Linked DNA regions of Homo sapiens: region 1 is linked to region 2. Evidence: promoter capture Hi-C in 16 types of primary human blood cells and fetal thymus (Javierre and others, 2016). All regions are on one chromosome and are shown on one strand. The core of a region is centred on a gene start or on the middle of the fragment in contact, and the rest is flanking DNA. Distances in the headings are between cores, read along the strand shown.

Region 1 (2,843 bases), core at 11-2,510, 250 kb after region 2:
GATAGCTGGGTTTAGAAGCCAGTGTAAGGCAATATGTATAAAAGCTCTGAAACCAGAATGACTGAGTTTGAATTCCAGTTTGGCCACTAACTAGCTGATAATCTTGGGCTAGTTACCTAACCTCCCTGCTTCAGTTTCCTCATCTATAAAAAGAGGATAAAATGGCACCCACCTCATAGGGTCCACGTGAGGATTAAATGAGTTAACCTAGATGGTAAGAGCTTCATGCCGTAACTGGCACATAGGACATGCTAGTTAATATTATTGCCACAAATGATCCTTTCAAGTCTTAGATTGTGCATTTCAAAAGTCCATCCTTATTTTTGGAATTGCATGCATTTATCTTGCTTTCTGCAAAATGGAAAGGCATCTCCCATGGGCTGGTTGGAGAGAGGGGCTGATAAAATGATGGTAATGTGATAAAATGCAGTTCTCTTGATTGTCAAGTGAATTCTGCATGATTCTTCTGCTCTCATTTGCCACGGGCTGACTGCTTCTGCAATGCAGAACCCGCTTGTAAAGGTCAGAATGAATTGCTTCCAAACATCCCTTTGTCCCTCACTGTCACGAAGACACAGAGCTGCATGCTGTGGAGGAAGAAGCAAATCCATGATGCTGGAAGGCCAGAGAACAGAAACCAACCGTGCACAGAGAGGCGAGCTGCTGGGACTTGAATGAAGCTGATGCGTCCCATCTATAAATTATTGTGGCTTCTCCTAGTTGGGAGGCAGGACCAGCCTCACAATTTCCCAGAAGACCGTAATTTCTGGAGCCTGCAGGCCTGGGGGCAAATGGAGAAATCAAAAGGCAGATGGCCTTGGAGATAGGCAGCCAGAAAGGATGTGAAAGGCCCTGGTTCTGGACTCAAGAGACCTCACGTTTCCTAGTCTTCTTTCTGTCTCTGCTCTTTTGTGTTCATGAGGTTCATGCCCTCATGAGGGCTCCCCCACCTCCAGTGGTCTAGGATTCTAGGATGTCTTGGTATTCTTTTTCAAAAAAAAAAAACTAAGAGCCAGCATTTATAGATATAATTCTGTCCTAAACACTTTACATATAATAATTCTTCATTCTTCATTACACCCTGTGAGATAGGTTATCATTGTTATAATTCCATTTCACAGATGAGGAAACTGAGGTACTCAGAGACTAAATGACTTGCTCAAGGTCACTTGTGAGAGGTCCAGCTCTAGGCCCTCTGGCCCGTGGGGCTATGCTCTTACCTAGTACCTCAAACTGCCTGGTAGACCTCAACCCTGTGTACCTGCACAAATGGTCCTGAAGCAGGCAGCTTTCTTCCCTGAGAGCTGCCTTTCCAGATATGCACTGCCAAAGGTCTGTGACCCTACAGCCTTGGCCTGATTTGGTCCAGATGCGTGTGGACATCTCTCCCAAACAGGATCAAATTGGCCTCTTCTAGGAGTTTAGAATTTGGAATCAAGGGTGCTGGTTTTAGTCTGGACTGGTCACACAGTTTTTGACAACTGTTTATTGTACGGGAAAAGTGTCCAGCTTGATGAATTCTCACACAGTGAATTTTTCTTTGTAAGCAGAGCCCCAGAAGCCCTTCTTTGCTCCTTCTAATCTCTACACGTCCCTCCCCATCCATCAAAATAACCACTACCAGACCAGCAATCCTTTGGCTGCTTTTCCCCCCACCCCCAGTGATCTATTTTATTTTATTTTGGAAAGAACACGTAACATGAAATCTATCCTCTTAACAAAGTTTTAAGTGTAAAATGCATCATTGTTGATGATGGATGCAGTACGAGACAGCAGATCTCTGGGGCTTATTCATCATGCTTGACTGAAACTTGATGCCCATTGGTAAGTAATTCCCCATTTTGCCCTTCTTCCAGGCTGTAGCCACCACCCTTTCACTCTGATTTTCTATCAATTTGACTATTTTTGTTACTTTACGTAAGTGGAATCATCTAGTATTTGTTTTCCTGTGACTAGTGTTTTTCATTTACCATAATGTCCTCAGGGTTCATCTATGTTGTCTCATTGCAGAACTTCCTTCTTTTTGGGGGGCTGAAAAATATTCCATCATATGCATAAACACATTTTCCTTATCCATTTGTTCGTCAGTGGACACCTAGATTGCTTCCACGTTTAGCTGTTGTGAAGAGTGCTGCAATGAACATGGAACTGCTAACATTTCTTCAGGATGTTAATTTCAATTCTTTTGGGTAAATACCCAGAGGTGAGGGTGCTGAATCATATGGTAGTTCTATTTTTAATGTTTTGAGGAACCTTCACACGGGCTAAGGACTTGAATAGGCAGTTGTCCGAGGAAGACATACAAATGACCAAAAGGCATATGAAAATTTAAAAAGCTAAACATCACTAATCACTAGGCAAATGCAAATCAAAACCACAATGAGATATTATCTCACACTTGTTAGGATGACTATTTTTTTTTTTTTTTTGAGATGGAGTCTTGCTCTGTTGCCCAGGCTGGAGTGCAATGGCGTGATCCTGGCTCACTGCAACCTCCACCTCCCGGGTTCAAGTGATTCTGCTGCCTCAGCCTCCCAGAGTGCTGGGATTACAGGTGGGAGCCACCACGCCCGGCCTATTTTTTTTTTTAAAAAAGACAAGTGTTAGCAAAGATATGGAGAGATTGGAACCCTTGTACACTGTTGGCAGGAATACAAAATGTTGCAGATACTATGGAAAACAGTTTGCCTGCTTTTGAGCACTTAAAAAACAAAACTAGGCTGGGCCCGGTGGCTCACATCTGTAATCCCAGCACTTTGGGAGGCCGAGGTAGGGGGGATCACTTGAGGTCAGGAGTTTGAGACCAGCCTGACCAACATGGCAGAACCCCGTCCCTGCTGAAA
Region 2 (3,010 bases), core at 204-2,703:
CCCTGCAGCCTCAACCTCCTGGGCTCAAGTGATCCTCCTGTCTCAGACTCCCAAGTAGCTGAGACTACAGGCATGTGCCACGACACCTGGTTAATTTTTTTTTTTTGTATTCTTTTGTAGAGATGGGGTCTCACTATGTTGCCTAGGCTGGTCTTGAGCTCCTGGGCTCAAGCAATCCTCCTGCCTCTACCTCCCAAAGTGCTGGGATTACAGGCATGAGCCTCCACGTCTGCCCTGAAATTTCAATATCACAGCTATACTGTATATCTATTTATGTGCTGTATGTATGCTGTGCTTTGTACATAAAAAATATGTTTTATTTTTTGCCCCGTTGGGGTGAGATAGAGACCGCACTGAGAATGCACGCTTTACATAATTAGTTCACAACTTGCCCCCGGCAGCCTCCACCACGTAAAATTAGAAGAAAGCAGCCCAGCAGGGCCTACAAGGAATGTGTGAACGGATGCACGTAAAGTGCTTAGCAAAGCGTGGTAAACAAGAGCCCTTGTTGTCATTCTTGCTTTAAGCCTAGTCCCAGTGATGTCTGTAACCCTCTCTTGGGCCAAGGAGTCCCATGGCTCTGGAGGGCTGTTCAGAGGACTAAGTCATTCCCAGTCTGGAGCTCTACGGGATCAGTAGGTACCTAAGGGAGTGAATTGGGCTTGGAGGGACTGTGGCCAGAAGACAGCTCTGGGCCTGGTGGTGATAGAACTTCTGATTTCTCAGGAAAAGCCAAGAATGTGGATTTTGGGTTAAATCTCCTGAATTTTAAGCATTGGCTCAATTAAACAACAATAAGGCAATGTGAACCGAACAAAAGGGATGAAACCAAGATTTACTGACTTTCCCAGAGTCACGGGCACGGCTGGGATTCCAACAAGGACTCCCAAACCAGTGCTCTTTCCACTTAACCTAACGCACACCCTTCATCTCGCCGCCCCTCCCCACTTCCCCGTCTTTGGGAGTTCTTCGATGCCTCTTCCCCCCTCCCCCCAGGATTCCCTCCCCATAGGCCACCCGCCTTCCAGCAGGGCGTGGTCTCTACAGAGGAGGTCAGGTCTCCCAGGCTTCCTCAGCGTCGACGCCGGGGAGCGCCCTGGGGTTGGGAGCGCCCGGGGCCCGCGAAGGAGGAGGTGGCTCAGGTGTCAGGGCGCACCGTGGGAACCGGCCCCGGGGGAGGCGTGGAAACGCGGGGCCTGGGACTCGACCAGCCTCTCCCGTGCGGATCGCAAAATCTCGGAGCTGAAACAGCCCGTTGTTCGCAGCCTCCCTCTGACCCGCCACCCTGCACATTGTTTTCCATTCGCCCGGGTCGCGGGTGGGAGGAGAGGCACGCCGGGGTTCTGGAGCTTGGCCGCGCGCCAGGCTTGTGGCCTTCGTCCCCCTGGGGCCACTGGGGCGGCCACGCCTCTCCGGCGGGAGGAGAGAACGCGTGGGTCCGGGTGGCTGCTCCGGCCCTTCCGCCTCCAGCTCGGCCATGGGGTCGCGCAGCTCCCACGCCGCGGTCATTCCCGACGGGGACAGTATTCGGCGAGAGACCGGCTGTGAGTGCGCCCGCGTCGGCGGCTGCGGAGGGGACGGGGCGAACCCAGGCGTCTGGGGCTAGGGAAGGGGTTGGGTTGAAGGATGGACGAACTTACAAGTCTGGGGTCCGGGGCTCCCCGGAGCTGGAAGACCAAGGCCCCTGTGCCTGGGATCGCTGGGTTAGGGGCGGGTTAACCTAGGGGTCCCAGCCTCCAAGTCTGGGGAGGATCCGGGTTCACGGGGTCGGAGTCCAGAGGAATCCAGGCACCCAGGTGTCCTCCAGCCCGGCTCGAAGCTGAAGGCAGAGCTGACGGCGGTTGGAAGGGATGGCTTTGGTTCTTTGGTTTTCGGGAGGTTGCGAGCCGCCCGGGTCTTGAACCTGGATCTTCGCGGGGTCGTGTCACTCTCCCTCCGCCCCGGCCAGCTCAACCCCTGATTCCCCGGGATGATCGCCCCTTCCAGCCAGCCCCCGCTGTTCTGGCCCATCTTCCTGGCCTGTTGGGGCGGGTTTCTGGAGCTGGCCCTGCAGAGTCACACACCCCCACCCCACTCTCCTTCCCGCAGTCTCCCAAGCCAGCCTGCTCCGCCTGCACCACCGGTTCCGGGCACTGGACAGGAATAAGAAGGGCTACCTGAGGTGAGGGGGAGCCGGCCTCATAACTTCTGGCCTCTGTCTCTCTGACTCCATGTCCCTCTTTGACCCTCCGTCTGGCATCTCTGCCTTACCCTCTTTGAAATTTGGCTTTGCAGCCGCATGGATCTCCAGCAGATAGGGGCGCTCGCCGTGAACCCCCTGGGAGACCGAATTATAGAAAGCTTCTTCCCCGATGGGTGAGGCTTGCTGGGCGTGGGGAGGTGAAGGCGGGAAAACCGGTGTGTGAGTGGGTGGGAGGGGAGGTTAGAGACGGAGGCAAAGTGATGGCCAAGGTGACCACCACCTCTTTCCATTCTGTCCCGTCTCCCCAGGAGCCAGCGAGTGGATTTCCCAGGCTTTGTCAGGGTCTTGGCTCATTTTCGCCCTGTAGAAGATGAGGACACAGAAACCCAAGACCCCAAGAAACCTGAACCTCTCAACAGCAGAAGGAACAAACTTCACTGTGAGTTTGTGAGGACCTGCACAAGTGAGAATGCAGATGTACCCACACCAGGGACAGGCTCCAGGGATCTCCCACTCCCTTCCTGAGGGCATTGACAACCTCCCCCCTCCTCCAAGGTGGGGGGAAGGAAGGTGGCTGCTGGAAGAGAGCCAGGGAAGACCTACCTTCCTTTCCCCCTCCCACCCTCTCCCCAGATGCATTTCAGCTCTATGACCTGGATCGCGATGGGAAGATCTCCAGGCATGAGATGCTGCAGGTTGGCAGAAAGCGAGAGCAAGAGATGTGATGTGTGAAGGATGGGATGGTTAAATGCAATGGTGTGAGAGATGGGGTGGGATGATTGGGGAACTGGGGCGCAGATAATTGGGGTATTGGTTGGGAAATGGGAA

The links. The method cuts DNA at HindIII sites, captures the fragments that hold promoters and counts their contacts. A CHiCAGO score of 5 or more calls a contact.
Region 1: a contact is called between a fragment that was not itself captured here and the fragment with the promoter of CHP2 in region 2, in 1 of 17 cell types (megakaryocytes). The highest score is 5.3, in megakaryocytes.

Annotation. Positions count from the first base shown.
Region 1 is chr16:24,007,014-24,009,856 of GRCh38, forward strand. The region is part of intron 3 of PRKCB (protein kinase C beta); the gene reads left to right. Among named protein-coding and RNA genes, the nearest start is that of PRKCB, 170 kb to the left of the region's middle. The HindIII fragment of the contact is 8,795 bases long and covers 1-2,843 here.
Region 2 is chr16:23,753,573-23,756,582 of GRCh38, forward strand. It overlaps CHP2 (calcineurin like EF-hand protein 2), which reads left to right and starts at 1,454. Exons shown (of 7, transcript NM_022097.4): 1 at 1,454-1,544; 2 at 2,089-2,161; 3 at 2,275-2,355; 4 at 2,491-2,621; 5 at 2,816-2,877. The coding sequence starts at 1,478. RefSeq lists an enhancer at 1,342-1,987. The HindIII fragment of the contact is 3,392 bases long and covers 1-2,338 here.